Regions from separate parts of the Homo sapiens genome. Here region 2 is linked to region 1. Evidence: promoter capture Hi-C in human tissues and cell types (Jung and others, 2019). All regions are on one chromosome and are shown on one strand. Each heading gives the region's core, a stretch centred on a gene start or on the middle of the fragment in contact. The rest is flanking DNA. Distances are from core to core; before and after follow the strand shown. Region 1 holds the start of BEND4 (BEN domain containing 4). Region 2 has its middle 34 kb from the start of BEND4.

What was found. Contacts are between HindIII fragments. The study calls those that stand out against the background at their distance.
Region 2: a fragment that was not itself captured here is called in contact with the fragment with the promoter of BEND4 in region 1 in 2 of the 25 tissues and cell types used here (hippocampus and mesendoderm cells).

Annotation. Positions count from the first base shown.
Region 1 is chr4:42,151,241-42,154,268 of GRCh38, forward strand. It overlaps BEND4 (BEN domain containing 4), which reads right to left and starts at 1,415. Exons shown (of 6, transcript NM_207406.4): 1 at 1,292-1,415; 2 at 417-1,136. The coding sequence starts at 903. RefSeq lists an enhancer at 1-732 and silencers at 498-587, 788-1,107. The HindIII fragment of the contact is 6,033 bases long and covers 1-3,028 here.
Region 2 is chr4:42,185,053-42,188,080 of GRCh38, forward strand. No RefSeq gene overlaps it. Among named protein-coding and RNA genes, the nearest start is that of BEND4, 34 kb to the left of the region's middle. The HindIII fragment of the contact is 4,180 bases long and covers 1-3,028 here.

The DNA.
Region 1 (3,028 bases), core at 165-2,664:
AGAAAGGGAAAAAGCAGACGGAAAAAGTGAAGTAGTACGAGGGCGTCCCAGCGGGGCGGCCCGAGAAGCTCCAGCTTCTTCCCGAGCGGCCGCCGCTATCCCCCGGGGGGGCGTCTGGCCCCACTCCGGACCACGCCCGAGCGATCCTGGTCGCCGACTGCCACAGCCGTGCTTCCCGGCGCGGGATCCAAGCCGCGGAGCCACCTGTTAGGCGCGCGCCGTCGGAAGCCCAGGCGCGGCGGCGCTGGAGAATCCTCTCGAAGTTTCCGGGTGCGCGGGGAGGCCCCAGGTGCGCCCCGACATCCCGACACGGCCCAGCACGGGTAAGTGTCGGCGGCCCCCCGCTTCTCCTTCCTGGGTCCCCTCCCGCTGCCCCCGGCCGTGGCGGGAAGGAAAGTTGTGCGGAGAGTTGGTACCTGCGCTGAGCTCCAGGCTGGCGCTGTCGCTACCCGTGCCGCCGGTGCCGGCGGCCGCCGCCGCGCCTGGGCCATACCTGACGACAGCGGCGAACGAAGACGACGAGGAGGCGGCGGGGGACGCGGGCGGCGGCTGCGCCGGAGTCCTCAAGTGGCCCTGGGATGTGGCGGGCGTGCAGGACGGCGACGACGACGAAGCGGCGGCGGCGGCCCGGCCGGGCCCGGGGGGGTAGGAGCTCTGCGCCTGGAACTGCTGCGGCGGCGGCTCGCTGCTGCTGATGGAGACGGCGGCGTGCGGCGCGAAGGGCGGCGGGGGCGGCGGGGGCGCCCGCACGTGCGGCAGCTCCACCAGGGTGGGTCGCTCGTAGCGCTTGGCCAGCGCCGGTCTCTTGCTGGGGAACGTCTTGAGGACGCTGTAGGGGCTGCGCTGCTTGTAGATTTTGGGGACGCTGGGCCCCTCCTCTGCCGGCTGCATCTCTTCCTCCATCCGGCGCCTCGGGGCCGGTCCCTCGGAGCACGTCCCCTCCCCGCCGGGCGCCGGGCTCCGAGGGTGCCTCCGCCGCCTGCCCGCCGGGTCTGCCCTGGTGCGCGCGTGTGGGAGGGTGTGTGTCTGTGCCGTGGCCGCCGCCGCCGCCGCCTGTCGCTGAGGCTGGCATCGCCGAGCCCCCGCGCGGGGGGCTGCCGCCCGAGCTCCTGATTGACAGGCTGCCTCGCCAATGCCTGGAGGGAGAAAGGAGGTAAAGAGCAAGTGTTTAGGGTAATATCTGCTAATGATAATGGGGGCGGGGCGGGGCCTGGCGCCGCAGCCGCCCGCGGGGTCTGCCTGGCGGCTCCGCGCCTCCGACGGGGAGCGGGGGAAGGGGGAAAGCGAGGACCTGGAGGACGCCCGGGAACTGGTGAAGAAGGTGGGGATCCGGGATCTGGCTACGGCGAGACTTTAGAGACCCAGATGTGGACTCGAGGCTTCTGCGGCTGCGGGCGGGGTCCGGCTTCCGAAACGAGCTCGTGGCGCCCCCTGCATGACCCCAAACTCTCGGGGTTGCACAGAGGAGGGGCTAGTCGTTGGGGCGGGGTCGTCAGAGTACGTGTGTATTACAGCAAGTTCTTCTACCAATCGGGAATTGCTCTCCGATCCTTCTGAAAAGAACCTCTTGAAGATCTTGGCCCGGGTGGTCGCGCGGTGTTTACGGGGCTTTGGGGTCCTGCTTTCCCCGAGCATCGCGGCCTCTGAGCTCATGCGGAACATAAAAGCTCGCAAGGCGTAGAACTTTTTCACGTTTTCATTTGTTTCCCGTAGGGGCCCCGAGAACGTGCATGACACCATGATTTCCCCCCCATTATAAAGATGAGAAAACCGAGGCTCTGAGAGGTTGAAGGGAATTGCCCAAAGTCAGACACTCGGGAGTGTGCGGCTGTGTTGCACTGACGCATCCAGGTTATTTGAAGTCAACTCCTCACTTCCCATAGCCAGTAGCCTCTGTGCAATTGAGTGGGGAAATGTCCTGATACCTCCCTTTGAGGTGATGATTACTTTCAACAGTGTCATTTTTAATATATGTATATGTACTTGCAAGCCCAGGGAAACACGAGAACTCACTCCTTGCATTGTTTTACTCACTGCAACTGGCGCCATCCGGCGAGGGTCTGGAGGGTGCCCAATTTCAGTAGCCGTTTGAATGAGAGATCTCAGTCGTTGGGAGGAAGATCCTCCATGGGATGCAGATGTCCTGGTCTCTCCCAGCCACTTTTTGGGGCAGAGGGTCCATTGCTCCCTATCCCAAATCACCCCTCTTCTAGGCCAACCAGCATACCCTGCCCCAGGTTTGCTTTTCAGCCTTCCTTTTTCGTTCTCCAGGTCAGAGTTCTGGATGCTCCTTGATGTAGGACCCTCATCTCTGCACTCTGAAGTTTGTTTCCTTTTCAGAGCCTTCCTTTTATTCTTAGGAAGGTGACCCATTTTCTTCTGGGGGTTCACATCTTTTGGCCTCTCTTTCCCTGGTCTCCTTCCCTTTGGAAGCTTTTTCTCTCTGCCTTGCTGGTTCAGCTTCTGTATTATTCCCCCCTAGATTGTCTCCCTCTCTCCTGCAGCTTCCTCAGATGGTGCTGTGTCCCCCCCCCAATCCATTTATTAGAGATGAAATAAATAATGCCATAAATATAAGTATTTGGGAGTCCAGGAACTGTCAGGGCTGATTAGGGCATAGAGGACATTTTCTTTCTCATTATGCAAAAGCATTTCATGGGGAAATAAAAGAGGTTTCATTGTAACTCATGCATGTCATATTTCAAGGAATTCAAGATATTAATCATATTTAACATTATTTGCAATGTTTCTCCCTGGCTTCTGAAAACTGCTAAATGAGGACACGTGGATCACTAGGAAAAGGAGACAAGCATGAGAGGGACAGTTAAGAAATAATGAAATGCTGGTGAAAGAGAAAGAGAATGAGATGCCAGGGAGATGTTTCTTAGGCACGTAAGTGAGAAATGGGGGAGCTACTTCTGAGACGTGAGACAGCTGAAATTGAATGATATACTGGAGGAAATAAATGATAACAAACCTCCCCACACTTTCCTTTCTATAAAGCAGTTCTGAATTTTGCATTGAAATG
Region 2 (3,028 bases), core at 355-2,854, 34 kb after region 1:
TAATACTGTATTTTTACGGTACCTTTTTATGTTTGATATGGTTTTCTGTGTCCCCATCAAATCTCATGTTGAATTGTAATCCCCATTGTTGGAGGTGGGGCCTGGTGGGAGGTGATTGGCTCATGGCGGTGGTCCTTCATGAATGGTTTTAGCACCATTTGCTGCTGTTCTCATGATAGTGAGTTATTGTGAGATCTGGTTATTTAAAAGTGTGAGCACCTTCCCCATCTCTCTATCTCATCTCTCTCATGGCTGCAGCCTTGTGAGACGTGCCTGCTTCCCCTTCACCTTCCGCCATGATTGTAAGTTTCCTGAGGCCACCCCAGTAGCAGAAGCCATTATGCTTCCTGGACAGCCTCCAGAACCATGAGCCAATTAAACCTCTTTTCTTTATAAATTACCCAGTTTTGGTAATTGCTTTATAACAATGGGAGAACAGACTAATATAATATTTAAATATACAAATACTTATGATTTGTTACAGTTGTCTGCAGTATTCAGTACAGTCACCTGCGGTACAGGTTTGCAGCTTAGATACCGTAGGCTGTATTATATAGCCTAGGTGTGTAGCGGACTCTACATTTAGGTTTGTGTAAGTACGATTAAATCACCTAATGATGCATTTCTCAGAACATATCCTCATCCTTAAGTGACGCACGACTGCATTTATAAGAAAGGAGACGGAAGAGTATGTTTGTATGTTGAAGATTATGAAAGTGCGTGGGTTGAATGGTGTCACCCAAAATTCATTTGTTGAAGTCTTAACCCCTGGTACCTCAGAATATGACCTTATTTGGAAATAAAGTCTTTGCAGATGTGATTAGTTGAGATGAGGTGAAACTGGAATGGGGTAGGCCTCTAATTCAACATGACTGCTGTTCTTATAAAAAAGAAAAATTTGGACACAGACATGCAAACAGAGAGAAGGCCATATGAACATGAAGGCAGAACTCAGAGTGATGTGTCTAGAAGCCAAGGAAGGCCAAAGATTGCCAGCAACCACCAGGAGCCAGGAGAGAGGCCTGGAAGACACCCTTCCCTGGCACCTTCAGAGGGAACTTGGCCTTGCTGATGTCTTGATTTTCTTTTAGTCTCCAGAACTGTGAGACAATACATTTCTGATGTTTAAGCCACTCCATTTGCAATACTTTGTTACAGCAGCCCTAGCCAACTATGAGAGAGAGAGAGAGAGAGACTTCTGAATAAATCCCAATTCTTAGGCTCTAACTAAGTGGGGTTGTTGGTGCAGCGAGCTGCTTAGTGACCACCATAGGAAATGGGTTAAAGACGACGTGGAGGCCAGGCGCGGTGGCTCAAGCCTATAATCCCAGCACTTTGGGAGGCCGAGGCGGGCAGATCACGATGTCAGGAGATCGAGACCATCCTGGCTAACACAGCGAATCCCCGTCTCTACTAAAAATACAAAAAATTAGCCAGGCGTGGTGGCGGGCGCCTGTAGTCCCAGCTACTCAGGAGGCTGAGACAGGAGAATGGCGTGAACCCAGGAGGCGGAGCTTGCAGTGAGCGAAGATCGCACCACTGCACTCCACCCTGGGCAACAGGTCGAGACTCCGTCTCAAAAAAAAAAAAAAAGAATACATGGAAATGTCAGCACACTAGACTAGGTACCTATTAAGAGGGTCACATCCAGTTTTTTAGTTGTATCTCTTCAACCTAGAAGTCATTGCTACACACTGCCTGCTGGAGACAAAAATCATTGTGAGCTTTTTAAAAAAATGGATCACTTCTCTATTACATAAGTTCAATAGAATCTAACATCGCAAGGCATAGTTCATAGTGCTCTCAGAGCCAACAGTTACAGTAACTTGGCAATATAAATCTTGGTAGTATTGACAGAAAGTGTTTATATAGATATTTCCAAATACCTCAACTTAGGCAGAAAAGTAGGAGTGAAAAATTAACAAATTGCACTCAACAATAGTTTAACAAATTGATTTCCACTAATATGAAAATGAAAAAAGATTCATATCTTGGGTGAATATTAATTTGTATGTTCTTTATAGAGGGTCAAATTCATCTTTAGGGTGAAATACATAAATCAACCCAATAAAAACTATATATATCAAGAAGAGCTAGAAATTTGTTCCCTGAAATGAAGCTTTTGCTTACTTCTAACTTGATCTTCATTTATTTGTTTTTTGAGAGCAAATGCATCATCAGACAATTGCTATCTTATTCACTTTGTAAATGATTTTAGATGATGTTGATTGTGCTAAAGGGATATAAGTTATATGGTAAATGGGAGAAAGGCTGTTTTTTGTTTATGGATTGCCTAGGATAAGTGGATATAAGACGTGGGAACGTTCGATGATGGAGTGTGGTGTGAGGAGAAGGAGAAAGTAGGAAAGAGGCAGTAAATGGACAACTTAAGCTGTGTGGCCTTGGGTAAACCTTTCAGGCCCATTTCCTGCTCTCTAACAGAGTTAGTAAGACCTAGCTCACTGTTGTATGTGAAAGCACCTGGAAGAGTGTCTGAGGCAAAGTCAAAGCACAATTGATGTTAGTGGTGTCTCTTTTAGATCGGGATTTGCAGTGAGAAGCAACGTGGTGGAGTGAGAAACCTGGATTTTGGTACACACTGATCTGGAAGCAAATTTCAGCTTAGCTTCTTGCCAGTGTGTGGTTGACTGTTAATCAGTTAGTGAACTTCCCTGAGCTTCGTTTTCTTCATCTTATGATTTTGTAAGGTTTTATGGTGATTCAATGAGATAACATAAAGCATCTGGCATTGTGACTATTACGGCCACTACTGGTCTATATGGTAACTTTATGTGAATTACGAAAATACACTCCTTTTTTTTTTTTTTTTTTTTTGAGGCAGAGTCTCACTCCGTCGCCCAGGCTAGAGTGCAGTGGCGCGATCTCGGCTCACTGCAAGCTCCGCCTCTCGGGTTCATGCCATTCTCCTGCCTCAGCCTCTCAAGTAGCTGGGACCACAGGCGCCTGCCACCACACCTGGCTAATTTTTTGTATTTTTTTAGTAAAGACGGGGTTTCAACATGTTAGC